Regions from separate parts of the Homo sapiens genome. Here regions 1 and 3 are each linked to region 2. The links are contacts of gene promoters, found by promoter capture Hi-C in human tissues and cell types (Jung and others, 2019). All regions are on one chromosome and are shown on one strand. The core of a region is centred on a gene start or on the middle of the fragment in contact, and the rest is flanking DNA. Distances in the headings are between cores, read along the strand shown.

The links. Contacts are between HindIII fragments. The study calls those that stand out against the background at their distance.
Region 1: a contact is called between a fragment that was not itself captured here and the fragment with the promoter of SLC6A7 in region 2, in 2 of the 25 tissues and cell types used here (H1 embryonic stem cells and bladder).
Region 3: a contact is called between a fragment that was not itself captured here and the fragment with the promoter of SLC6A7 in region 2, in 2 of the 25 tissues and cell types used here (H1 embryonic stem cells and spleen).

The regions. Positions count from the first base shown.
Region 1 is chr5:150,103,536-150,107,791 of GRCh38, reverse strand. It overlaps a transcript of CSF1R not described here. Among named protein-coding and RNA genes, the nearest start is that of CSF1R, 19 kb to the right of the region's middle. The HindIII fragment of the contact is 7,045 bases long and covers 1-4,256 here.
Region 2 is chr5:150,188,399-150,193,022 of GRCh38, reverse strand. SLC6A7 (solute carrier family 6 member 7) reads right to left here and starts at 2,961. Exons shown (of 14, transcript NM_014228.5): 1 at 2,663-2,961. The coding sequence starts at 2,695. The HindIII fragment of the contact is 16,922 bases long and covers 1-4,624 here.
Region 3 is chr5:150,308,134-150,313,034 of GRCh38, reverse strand. No RefSeq gene overlaps it. Among named protein-coding and RNA genes, the nearest start is that of ARSI, 7.7 kb to the right of the region's middle. RefSeq lists enhancers at 2,856-3,489, 3,490-4,123. The HindIII fragment of the contact is 3,593 bases long and covers 1-3,431 here.

The DNA.
Region 1 (4,256 bases), core at 1,031-3,530, 85 kb after region 2:
TAATGAAGAAACAAGGCCTTGAAAGGCCGGGGACCTGGCTGTGGTTAGGAGTGGGGAATGAATTCCTGGTCTATCTGGCTCCAAAGCCTAGGCTGTTCCCCTTTACCCTCGATCCTCCTGAGAGCCCCTGCCATTGATGAAAGACAGTGGTTGAACATGTGGGCTCTGGCTCTGGGTTCCAGGGTTTAAAACCCAGCTCTGCCACTTAGCTGTTTAACTCCAGGCAGGTTACTTACCATCTTTGAGCCTGTCTTTCTTCATCTGTAACATGGAGTAATTACAGCTTTCCCCTAAGGTGGCTGGGAGAATCAATGAGATGATCTGTGCAAATAGCTCAGTCCAGAGACTGGCATGAAGAGTGTGCCCAATGGATCAACCAGAACAGTCCTTCTTCATGCCCCTGTGTTAATGCAATTATTAATAGCACCCCTTCCAGTCTCAAAGGTTCCAAATTGGATGACAAATCATGTTAATGTCCATAGATGTCAGATATTATCAGCTGCACTGTATAACACCACTTAGCTACTTGCCTTACCTCCCACCAGGCGGTGAGGTCCCTGCATGCAGGAAAGTGCTCTGAGCCTTGGCCTTCCTGGGCCCAGAACAAGGCCTGACACATGAAGCATTTGCTGAATAAATTGCTTTTGGAGGGTGGAGAGCTTCTCCTTGCTCTTCATTTATTCATTCATTCATTGGATTGTTTATACATTTCTTCATGCATCTGGCATTGACTGAGCACTCATCTGCCAGGCAGGGCCAGGTGTAGAGGGTATAAAGAAGACCGGAAGGGAGACTGGCCCTACCAGGAAACTCCTGCTGCAGAACAAAGGGGTCAGAATGACATCACACCAATAACCACTCTCATAACTGTGCTTCTGTTGACAGCGAGAAGTGCCAGGAAACTCAGGGAGCCACGAGAGACTATAAGACAGGGACTCAGTCAGGCAAAGGGAGGCTTATGGGCCAGGTGGAAGCAGAAGTATGTGGAACAGGAAGAAGGAGTGTGGGGGTGTATGCAGGAGCTGCAAGTGTTCAGTACAGCAGGGAGGGTGGATGGAGAGAGAAGAGGCAGAGATCAGATTGCAAAGGCCCCTGTAAGCCCTGCTACAGGGTATGGCCTTGATCTGCTCTATGGAGCTGCAATAGTAATGGGAGCAAATACCCCATAGTACTCCAATTCAGACACTAGAGCTCAATCCTCAGGCCTAGAGATAGGTGTGGTCGAACCTTTGTGGTCCAGGGTCAAAGAGGAACCAGTTGCCAAATTGCCATTATTCTGTCTGGGTCCCTGGCTCCTAGCTTGGGCCCACTCCACTCTCTGGTGGGGAACCTCCTGGGTCCCAGGGCATGGGCTGCAGTTGGGGTTAACTGGGCAGGAGGGTGGGGGCTAAGCTGTCCTTGACCTGGGGTCTGGAGGTTCCAGGGTCCAGGAGTCAGGCAGGGAGATGAAAACTAGGCTCTCAGTATGTGAAGTGTGACATGGCCCACACATTTCTTCAGAGTTTCCTAATCCTTGGGCTGTCATGCAAACTCCTCTCAAAGTTCCTCTGCCACAGGAAGGGGTAATGTCAATCTGGGATTCTTGTTTGTCACCTTCCCGGCAGCATCACCAAGGCTTCCTCAGTCAGGGCTTACCCCACTGAGTCCCATGGCACTTCCCCACTCTGTGTCCACTAGCGGTCAGCACACCCACTGCTGGGGGAGGTCAGGATCGCCCTGTGCAGTGTGCTGGTCATTAGCGTAGGCTCTGCAGCCAGGCTGCCTGCTTCCAGTCTCAGCTCTGTCATTCCCTGGCTCTGGGACTTTGGGCAAGTGAACTAACCTCTCTGAGCCTTGGTTTCCTCATCGGCAAAATGGCGTAATTAATAGAATCAGCCTCATGTGTTAAAAGCACTAAATTAGATAAATATGGAAAGAGCCTGCTGTGGTGCCTGGCACATAAACAGCACTCAGAAAATATTAGGGAGTCCAGTGTGGTGGCTCACACATGTAATCTCAGCCCTTTGGGAAGCCAAGGCAGGAGGATCGCTTGATGCCAGGAGGAGTTTGAGACCAGCTGGAGCAACACAGTGAGACCCTGTCTCAACAAAAAGAAATAGAAAATTAGTCAAGTGGGCGGTGTGTGCCTGTAGTCCTAACTACTCAGGAGGCTGAGGCAGGAGGATTGCTTGAGCCCAGGAGTTTGAGGCTTCAGTGAGCTGTAACTCTGACACTGTACTCTAGCCTGGCAACAGAATGAGACTTGCCTATAAAAAAAGGGAAAAAGAAAAAAAAGAGGCCAGGTGTAGTGGCTCACGCCTGTAACCCCAGCATTTTGGGAAGCCAAAACGGGCAGATCACTTGAGGTCAGGAGTTCGAGATCAGCCTCGCCAACATGGTAACCCCGCCTCTATTAAAAAAAAAAAAATATATATATATATATATATATTTTTTTTTTTTTTTTTGAGACAGAGTCTCTCTCTGTCACCCAGGCTGGAGTGCAGTGGCACAATGTTGGCTCACTGCAACCTCCGCCTCCTGGGTTCAAGTGATTCTCCTGCCTCAGCCTCCTGAGCAGCTGGGACTACAGCCACGTGCCACCACGCCTGGCTGATGTTTTGTATTTTTAGGAGAGACAGGGTTTCACTGTGTTAGCCAGGCTGGTCTCCATCTCCTGATCTCGTGATCCACCTGCCTGGGCCTCCCAAAGTGCTGGGATTATAGGTGTGAGCCACTGCACCCAGCCTCTGTCAAAAATATTAAAAAATTAGCTGGGCGTGGTGGTGGGTGCCTATAGTCCCAGCTACTCAGGAGGCTGAGGCAAGAGAATCACTTGAACCCAGGAGGTGGAGGTTGCAGTGAGCTGAGATCACGCCACTGCACTCCAGCCTGGGTGACAGAATGAAACTCCATCTCAAAAAAAAAAAGAACAAATGAACAAAAGAGTAAGGATTAGGCCTCTAAATGCCATTTTTTCCAGGAGGACAGAGTACCTTCCTACTCACGGGGCTTTGGCATACAGCATTCATTCATTAATTCATTCACTCTTCATACATCTAAAATCAGTGGATCAGAATGGTCAGGTATACCTGTACCATAGGAGGCAGAAATGCCCTCACCAGCTGTGTGATCTTGGGAAAGTGACTTAACTTCTCTGAGCCTTGGTTTGCTCTTCAGTAAAACAAGGATAATAACCACACCTACCTCTAGAGTTGAGGATTCAATGAGAAAATTCCAAAGAGCACTGGGCGTGCTGCCTTTCACATAGTGAGCACCTGATAAACCTTTGAAGCCTGCCATGCAAGGAAAATGCTGGGATGCGGTTGAGCCCAAAAGGCCTGGGATGCATAATAAGGATACCTGCCCATCTGGCAGGAACAGGGAGGCTTCCAGGAGGCAGCGAGTCTGAAGGAGCTATAGGAATTAGCTGGATGGATAGAAATGACAGGACAAGCAGCATCCTTTGATCGTGGGGACAGAGACAGGTCCTGCCAAGGTGGCCTAGGCCATCCCTCAGGACTACTGTAGCCTCCACCCCTCTTGCTGGTTATACCCCTCCTCCACCTAAACATGTTCCACCAGAGAGGGGTCTCTGCCAGCCTGGGTCAGGGACTTGGTGAGAATTGCATGAAAGCTGGGCAAGATCACACACAAACTTTGCATCCGTGTTAGGGGTGCCCAGGTTTCCTCAAGGCCATCCAGGGACTCTCAAAGGCAGTGGCCTCAGCCAGAGGGAGCATGAGAATCCGCTAGAGAGCTTGTTACCTGTGCAGGTACCCCCCTCCCACCCCTAAGTCAGCAGGCCTGGGATGGTCCTGGAGTCTTCATTTTAACAGTTACCCCTGTGATTCTGAGGCTGGGGTCCCTGAACTGCACTTGGAGGTGCACCCCTCTAGAGGCCTCCAGGCCATTAAGGACCCATGGCCTATAGGATCAAGCCCTGGCACCCTGCCAGGTTGTCAGGTACTCTTAGTACTTGGACCTCACCCCCTTTCTACTCCCATCTCCACTCCATTCCTTCACACTCTGGTTGGCCCCAGAGAGTCCTGATTTTTCACCCTCTCTGCCCCTATGCTATTCCCTCTCCTGGGATTTCCTTTCTGCCTGAAGGGTTGCTGCTCCTCCTTCAAGGCCCAGCTCCAATGCCACTGCTCTGGAAGGCCTCACAGACTCTCCATCTTCTGTTCCCCAGCGCCATCTGATTGTGCTTATGTTACAACACTTAGGGGCTTGCTTCCAAATGTGTTGGACTTTAAGAAGTTAATGTCACATTGATG
Region 2 (4,624 bases), core at 1,712-4,211:
GACTTAAGTGAAACCCACCCTTCCCCTCCAATGCCCCGTTCCCTGAGGCTGCCTCTCCAGCTGGGTGAGCATCAGCCTTCAGCAACCTCTCACCCCAGGTGAGCTCCGGGAGGAATGGTTGCCACTGTTCCTGGTGTTGGGTGGTGAGCAGGCCTGTTACCCTGAGACACCCCCCGCCCATCCCAGCACCATTCAGGCCAGTTAGCAGGAGGTCCCAGTAATGAGGATCCTCTGATCCCTCCAGAGAAGCTGCCCTTTCCATGCTCATGGAGCGGTCCCGGTTCTCTGTTTCCATGGTGACTAGAGTTCCAAGAGCAGGATGCTGCCAGCTCGTCCCCCTCCTCCCCCAATCAGAGGGAAGCCTGCTTCTGCTCCAGGGGCAGGAGATAGGGTCCTCCAAAGCTGAGCCAATCAGGAGCCCAACTGGAGTTCCCAACCCCACCATGGGGTGAATCCCAGGAGGCTGGCACAGTGAGGATGGGGCTGGTTGGGAGATGGAAGAAAGCAATCAAATAGCTGGGGCAGGGCTGGAAGCTGAATGAGTTGCTTCATACTTCTTCCTGGGTGTAAGCCTCCCACTCCTGAATCTCCCACTCCCTACCCCAGGGGCATGCAGGAACACACAGCTGAGTTTGTCAGACCTGCATGCTCGCCTTTAGGGACTCACAGCAGGGGCTGGGAGACTCAAGACTGCCCAAGCCAAGACTCTTCAGGACAGAGAGAGACAATAGGAATCTGGGGTCCAGCTTCATCATTGTGCAGATTAGGAAACCAAGTTTCAGGAAGAAGGGATGAGCCCAAGGTCAAACAGCAAGTTAAAGGCACAGCAAGACTTGGACCTAGATCCCCTGACTCTAAGTCCAGTGTTCATCTCTGAGCAATGCTGCTCCTTTGCGGAAATCTGGCATTTTCTCATTCCCGCCCAATTCTGCTTGAGAAAAGGGAAAGGACCCTGAGAGGAGGTAGCAACCTAGAACCAACCCTCTGCCCTGTTGGCTCTAGGTTGCCTAGCCTGCCAGCAGGTAAGCAGTGAGTCTCACCCCTCTGTGCCTCAGTTGCCTTATTTATAAAGTGGGGCTACTAAGACCTAGCCCCTGGAAGTGTTAAAGGATTAAATGAGATAAAGCTTGCTAACCCCCCAGCCCAGCACCCAGCAAGAGGGACAGGGCCTCTTGTGGGGAGGGAGGGCAGAGAGGGAAGAGAAGGAGAGTGGAAAAGAATGGAAACAGGACCCAAGAGACTCACAAATGGTCTCAAGAAGTCACTCATGTCAGTGAATAAAAAAGACATACCAGCTGGGCGCAGTGACTCACACCTGTAATCCCAGCACTTTGGGAGGCCGAGGCGGGCGGATCACGAGGTCAGAAGATCAAGACCATCCTGGCTAACACGGTGAAACCCCGTCTCTACTAAAAATACAAAACATTAGCCAGGCGTGGTGGCGGGCGCCTATAGTCCCAGCTACTCGGGAGGCTGAGGCAGGAGAATGGCGTGAACCCGGGAGGCAGAGCTTGCAGTGAGCCGAGATCACACCACTGCACTCCAACCTGGGTGACAGAGCGAGACTCCGTCTCAAAAAAAAAAAACAAGAAAAAGAAAAAAGACACACCACAGTGGTTCCAAGCCCAGCTGCCCCAGAGCAGAGAACTTGAATGAATGAGTGTGTGTGTGAGTGAGTGTGAGTGTGAATGTGTGTGTATGTAGGGAGGTTGATAACACCAGCCCCTGAGAACAGTCTTCTCACATCTACCAGCCCTTTAGCATTCTTCCCCACACCTCACACACCCAGTGGGGCCTGTTTTGGTGCCTCCAGGCTAGGGCTTAGCCAGAGGAGGTTCAGGTTAGAGAATGAACTTGTCCAAAGTCACCAGGCAAGTGGCAGCGGCAGAAATAGTATTCAGGAGATCTGACTCCTTAGTTAGGACTGGTACAAGCCAGAAAACGTCCCCCAGTATTCCCCCTCCCCATATCCTGACAGCTTGGCTGAGAGGTCCAATCCCACAAGGCAAGGTAGGGAGAGCCTGAGGTCTGGGCCCACAGCCACTCTCCCATACCAGCTTCCATCTTCATTGATCATATCCTCCTGCCTCCGATAGCCCCCTCCCTGTCTTTGCCTCCCTTCAGCCCTGCTGAGGGGCAGCCTGGGGTCTCAGCAGGCAAGCTAAGGGGGCGGGGAGGGAGCAGGCAGGAAAGAGGAGAGTCTTCCCGCAGGCTCAGGGAGCCGGCTTCAGTATGGATGACCGCCTCCCACTCCCCACCCCTCAGATGAGTCCAGCTCAACGCTCAGGTATTCCAATACCCCCCACACCCGGCAATCAGCTCCTGGCGGGGAGCAGCAGGGTGGAATTGGGGAAGAGGTGGGTGCCTGGCCCCGGCCGCCCCTACCCCGCGCCTCCGGGGACTGCAGACACCTGTTCATAGGCCTGGCCCAGTGAACCAGGACTCCCCTCATACTACATCCCGAACCCCAGATGGCAGGGGCAGAGGTGGGGGCGCAGACCGTGACCCTGACCCTCCCTGTTATCCAGCTGAGTCGGGCCTTCCCCAGAGCCCGAAGCTGGTCTGGGTGCATCCTCAGACCTTCCCCAGGGGCCTCGTTGGGGGCGGGTCTCTCCAACCCTCCTCCAGGTGCACCCCCAGCGCCCCCGCCCTCGTGCCCTACCTTGCGGAGGTGAGCTCCCTGGAGCTTCTTCATCTTGGAGAGCGGGTGGCCGGGGCTCAGCTGCCCCGGAGCGCAGAGAGCGAGGGCACGAGAGATGGTCCGCTGGCCACTGCGCCTTTGCCCCCGCGGCTCCCGCGCACCGGCTGGGGCGGGCACGGACGCAGGCGCTGCCGTCTGGCGGCTGCGGGCGTGGAGCGCGGGCAGGGCGCTGCGAATGCCTTGTCTGTCCCTGCGCAGCGCCCGAGGCTGGGGAAGGGTGCACTGCTGCGCCCGCATAGACACCCAGACAGACAGCTGACGGACGGACGGCGGGGGGATGCGCGCGCCCCCGCACGCAGAGCTGCGGATTGGAGAGCCCTGAGCGAGTGGGGAGGGGGGTTCGCGACGGAAACCCTCGGCTTTCTGCGTGACCTTGGGCAAGCGACCTGCCCTCTCTGGGACTCCCTTTCCACAGTTGGGCAAGGAACACTAACAGCCCACCCCCCTGCGTCGTCTTTGCTGTGCGACCTTAGGGGATAAGAATCTCTCCTCTCTTACAGGAGTGTGAGCAATTCAGGAAGATGGAGCATAGAAAACATCTAGCACAAAGAGCCTGACACATAGTAGGTGCTCAGTTAACATTTATTCACTGACTGTGGGTTGCCCACGCCACCATTAGTCCAATTATTCAATCTATCAGTATTTATTGAGCACCTAAAATGTGCCAGGTCCTGAACTAGGTGTCCTATTTTCTCAACCTGGAGAGACAGGTGTCGTTACTCCTATTCTACAGATGAGGAAGCTGAGGGACAGGGAAGTTAAGTTACTTACTCAAAGTCACGGGGCTAATGAGTGACACCAGGGACAGAGTCAGGCTTCATGGACCTTTAGGCTAGTAGAGTCTTCAACTCTCCTCCTTTCCTTAAGATGAAAGCAAAATGGGGAGGTTTGGGTGAGCAGAAGGGACAGGCAAGTGCCACAGTGTCACTGTGATCTGTGACTTAGATGATTAGTAACTGGTTTCCTGTCCAGCAGCAGTATGGCTTCTGGAAAGTTCTAATTTCATATCTGTAAAATGGGCCACGAGCCGCCCATGCATTGTTGCCTCAGAATGTTCTGAGGGTCCAGTGAGCCTGTGGCTAGGATGGGAAATGATGAGCTGGAGCAATGGCACACGTTGGTTTGCTGGGACTGACTGATAGACACTAGCGGATCAGTATATACATTACAAATTGTGTCCTTTTCACCCTCGCAAGTGTCCCAGTTTAGACATTAACCATACATCTGTTTGGCTCACTATCAGTTGACACGGTGGGAGGCCTTTGGGGAGAGATGAGAATAAGGTTCTGCTCTCTCCCACCTCTGGAGCTTGAAAAAAGGTTGGAGGGGTTTAAGTCAAAGCATGGACTTGGGTAAAGGCCTGGCCAGGCTCCAGTCCACCCCTTCCCCTGCCCAGGTCCTGTCAAACTTCTCTCCCCTTTGAGCCTGGCCACAAAGGGCAAACCAGGGGCTCTCCAGACCCAGGAGGAAGGTGTCTCCTCTGCCCCCTGCCTGCTGACCCATATGGGGCCAAGAGTGGCTGTGAGTGTGAAGAGAAGGAGCATTTATGGAGCCCTACTGTGTGCATTATGAAGGATTTTTGCATCCAACATCTAATTTTTAATTCTTTCCAACTGTCTGGGAAGACATGTTTGTGCATCTCATTTTACACCTGTGGAAACTGTCCCAGAGGAGTGAAGTCATGCACTGGGCGTTGGGGATGAAGCCAGGAAAGCTGTGGGTCATGGCTGGGAAAGGCAGAAGCCAAGGGCTCCTGAATCCAAGGAGGCCCAGGCAGGAAACTTCCCCATCCCTCACCCAAGGCTTGTCAATGCATCTTGTACAAAAGAGGCTCAACCTTGCTCAACCACTCCCTCCCATTGGCACTTGGGTTTCATGAGACCCTTTGGAAGGCACAGAGGGCCACAGGGACAGCGAGCAGGG
Region 3 (4,901 bases), core at 386-2,885, 120 kb before region 2:
GAAAAAAAAAAAAAAAGAAAGAAAGAAAGAAAAAGGTTTTGGTGTGTGTATTTATAATGATATGTACTGTATTGTAGAATATTCCTGACAGGAAATAATTTCCATTTTGCTTAAGCATCTTTGAGCACTGAGTCTTTTGCTTAGAATTTTACAGGTCTGATAATTGGAAGAATTTTCCACAGCTTAGCTCTTGGCTCCTTAGATTTCAAAATTGTCCCTCTTCTCCGACACATATACTTCTATTGCCGGGGACTGGAAGACACCTTCACGCTGCCATCCAAGCTTGGGGCCTGCACCTTTGTGTCATAATATGTCAAGTGAGTCAGCTCAGCAGACAGCAAGAGCCCTGGAAGACATTTCTATACCGAGACAGCCGACTTAACTGTGCATGTATCCCCAGTTCAACTTCCCGTGAGCCAGACCCCCAAAATGCCACAGTCCTTCTAAAGCCATCTGTCCTGAGGAAAATAACAGTGAAGAGGTCAGAGGCAAGAGTCATTGATCACAACTGATTGCAGTTAAGATGACGGGCTCAACTTTCAGATACGTGATCATGTGAACACAGTGTCGGAGCCCCCCTCAGGGATTAGAGAGGACCCTGTGCTAGGGAGGGGTCTGGAAGCTTAAGCTGTACTAATTTCATGGTCAATCTGTCTCAGAATGGGTGCCTCTCCCTATCTTAAAATAATCGTATGAGCAGGCTGGGCGTGGTGGCTCACACCTGTAATTCCAGCACGTTGGGAGGCTGAGGCTGGTGGATTACCTGATTGTCAGGAGTTCGAGACCATCCTGACCAACAGGGTGAAACCCTGTCTCTACTAAAAATACAAAAAAAAAAAAAAAAAAAAAATTAGCTGGGCATGCTGGCAGGCGCCTGTAATCCCAGCTACTTGGGAGGCTGAGGCAGGAGAATCGCTTGAACCAGGGAGGCGGAGGTTGCGGTGAGCTGAGATCGCGTAATTGCACTCCAATCTGGGTGACAGAGCAAGATTCTGTCTCAAAAAAAAAAAAAAAATCCTACGAACATTCATGAGATACAGACTTACTCATCTACTATAAGCCAGGGTCTGTGCTAGGAACTGAGGAGGCAGAGAAAAACTAAGCCAGCTGAGTGCAAATCCAATTTCTAGGTATCACAACCTCCGTGAGAGACCTGGCCCTGAGAGACTGGGTTTGCCCAAGAGACTAGGTTCTCCCAAGGGTGGGTCATAGGATAAAGGAAAAAACTAGGCTCAGGTTAGGCTATAAGATGGGGCTTTTCCCTTTGATAAGCATATTGAAAATCCCTGTGAGATGAAGCCTCCCTCCAGGGTAATCTTGATGCTGAAAGGCCTCTTCATAATCAGAATTCCAGACCAAAGCGAGTCCACCCATAAAGCCAGGAGCATGGGAATTGACACCCTCAAATGAGACCTTGGAGCCATGCTGCTCGCAGGAAACTATCCCCTGCCTGAAGTCCTGGATCCAGGGGACGAGGGCTCAGCCTCCAGGTCCAACTGCCAGCGTTGGTCTGGAAGCTTCCTGCTGAGCAGAAACTCACTAATCCCTAAACCAGCTCTTCCTGCCAGTGACCAGCCAATTACCACTGCCTGCCTCAGCTCCAGCCCAGCTTCATTCAGGACCGAGGCACTCTTAATCATGTGAAGGACACATATTTTGGGGTGTTCTCCTCTCTGAGCCTCAGTGTCTTCACAAGTCTAAGGGAATGACAATGGACCATCAACTCCAAGAGGGCCAGGTGGTTTGTCTTGTCCATATCTGTAGTCTTAGTCCCAGTGAGTGAAAGGCACATAATAGTTGCTCAGTAAGTGCTTGTTGAGCAAATGAATTGGATAAAGAGATCCTTGATTTCTGTGTGGATAAGACAGCATTCTCGCAGTAGTTGGTACTCATCCAGTAGCAAGTGACAGATGTCAACACAAATTGGTGTAAGAAAGAAGGAACGTATTGTTCCCATAACTGAAGTCCAGGGGAGTAGTTCTAGCTTCAGGTAGGACTGGAAAGGACCCATGTACTCAAATGGTGTTATTGGGAATCTGTCTTTACCTCTCACTTTGCTTTTTTTCTCTTCACTACAGTTAGCTCCAGGCAGGTCCAGGCTTCTAATCTTCTTGCTCCAAGTCTAGCAGCAAAGAGACAATGAACAATCTTGTTCTCAAAAATCCAAACAAAATTCTCAGAATTGAGTCTCACTAGACAGTCTTAGGTCACTTGTGCATTCCTGAACTAATCACTTTGACCAGGGACATTTGATGCTCTAATTGTCCAAGCCTGCTCCTGGAGTCAACCCATCAGTGGAAACCCATCAAAGAAAATCTAGGTTCTGTTTCCAAGAAAGGGGAGCAGCTGCAAGGCAGACAATAGGTGCCCATCACAGTATTTGACTAAAGTCTGAACACCTAGGCAACTCTTACCTTCTCTAAGCTTCAGTCTCTTCATATGTCATTGATAACAATGATGACACTAACAAAATTCCTGCCCCTTTTACATCCCAGAGCTTTCGTGAGGTCCAAACAAGATCATGAGTTATGATAATAATTAACATTTATTGAAGGATCACTGGACATCCGGCCCTGTGCTAAGTAAACCCTTTACACATTTAGTTTTATCGTTACCACAATCCACGTTACTGATGAGAAGCAGGTTGAGAGAGGCTACAAGGCTTGTATACTGGTCACACAGCTAGGAAGGGTGGAGCTGGGGTTTAAAGCAGTACCCTCAAGCATGAAGCTATATATAAACTGTAAATAATTTTACAAGTGTAAGGGATTATTAGTAACGGCCTGTACTATTAATAATAGAAAATATTTAAAACCCTGAAAGGAAATTCAAATAAATTCAAACAAATGTTTGTTTAGCACCTACTATGGGCTGATCACTCACCAGGGGCTCAGAAAGAGACACATAAATAACTCTGAAACAGGCAGACTGTGATCTAATAGAACCATAAACATGCCCCAGGGGACTGTGGAGAGCAAGAGATTGACTGAATAGGGAAGGAAGGGAGGAGGAGGTCTAGAAAAGTCTCTTGGAAGCGGTGGGATTTGAGCTGGGCTTTAAAGATTAAAGGACTTCAACAAAGGAAGGGAAAGGGAAAATCAACTTTTAAGAGACCTGAAAGGATCTAAAGACTCAGAACAGAGTTCTTGGATAAGGGTTCAGCACTTCTATGCAAAATAACTTTAGCACCAGCAGGGACTTCAAAAGTGATTGACTTAGCAGAGCACAGTAGTTGCCATGGGAACAGAGGCAAGCCTCATCCCTGTCATTAGAGAGCATCTCTGGCTTTGAGCAGTCTAGCCAAGGCCAGGAGGCAGCGGGGGCTGGGTTGTGCTATCCCTTAGAAGAAAAACCCAGCAAGATTGCTGCCCCGAGAGACTGACTCTCATTTCACAGGGAGGCAGAGCTGACAGGTGACATCTGGGTCTGAGAACATAGAAAGCCAGAGGAAGCCTCTGCCTCAAGGGGCTTTGGGACATCCTGAAGCTATTGGAGCAGGCAAGGGAGCCTCAAGGAGGGAATGGGAAGGGCAGGGGACAAGCCTGAGAGCGGCTTCCAAGATGGATCAATTCCCACTCAGTCTGGGAGGAGCAGAGCAGTGCTGGAGGCAGCTCCACCCAGCATCCCAGCGTGGCAGGGGGTGGAGGGCGTCTCCCAGAGCATGCACTCATGTCACTCCTAGGCCCACTCAGACCTCTCAGGCCTCTGGGGCCCACTGCCAGGGCATTCCAGTGCATTGGGAGCGTTGGCATCTAACCACTCAAGTGCAGAGGGGACCCCATTCACAGGCTTGGTGACAGGAGAGCATATGGTGGGGACTTTAATGCAGCAGGCAATAGGTTTGACACCTATATTCAAATCATGGCCTTGACACTTTCTAGCTGTGTGACTTTGGGCAAGTTACTCACCCTTTCTGTGTTTCTCGGTTTCTCCATGGGCAAGATGCAGATAATGATAATAATTTTACCTACCTTATAGGTAGGTAAGAATTTAGTGAGATAATAGATATAAAGAGTTACGCATGGTACCTGGCACAGTAGATCGTCAATAAATGTAAGCTATTATATTATTATTATCACTTCCGAATTTCAATTTGGTATCGAGTCAGGTTTTTTTAATTTATTTATTTTTATTTCAGGCAGTGTCTCTTATCATTTGTGCTAAAAGCCAGTTTCTCCAAGTATAGTAGATGATGACAATGACAGCAGTAATAGTAGTGACGGGACCCATTTACCTTCCATATATCCAGTGACATTATCATGAAGAAGGAAGGCAAAGTTCTAGTGCTGAATGCCAGGCTAAACGCTCGAGCTTTTTATTTCAGGCAGCTAGTGGCTATTGAAATTTTGGAGGAGAATAACTTGATCAGGGGAATGTAGATTTTTGCCCTGAGGCTATACACTTGTAGAAATAGAATCTAAGTATAACAACAACAAAGCTTAGTAACAAAAACAATAATAGCTACCATTTTCAGAGAGCTAATTGTATACCAGGCACTGTGCTAAGAGCTTCAGAAGCCTTGTCTGTTGTAATCCTCACAACAATCTTATGAGGTTATATATTTCTCCTTCTCCTTCTCCTCCTCCTCCTCCTCCTCCTCTTCTTCTTCTTCTTCCTCTCACCCCCATTTTACAAGTAAGAAAACTGGGCACAGAGAGGTTAAGTCATGCAGCTAGCAAATGGCAGAGCTGGGCTAGAACACAGGCGATCTAGTTCTAGGAGTCTCACATTTAACCAGAACACGCTTTTTCCTTCCCTGAACCTTGGAAGGCCCTCGTGGTGGGGTTGGGGGGCAGCCTGCCACCCTCACTTTTGGGAGCCCCTCTGTTTGTCTGCATCTGAGCACTGCCACTCTCTATTTGATTCTCTGGGACTTCACCTCTTTCTTTGAAAGTATGTGT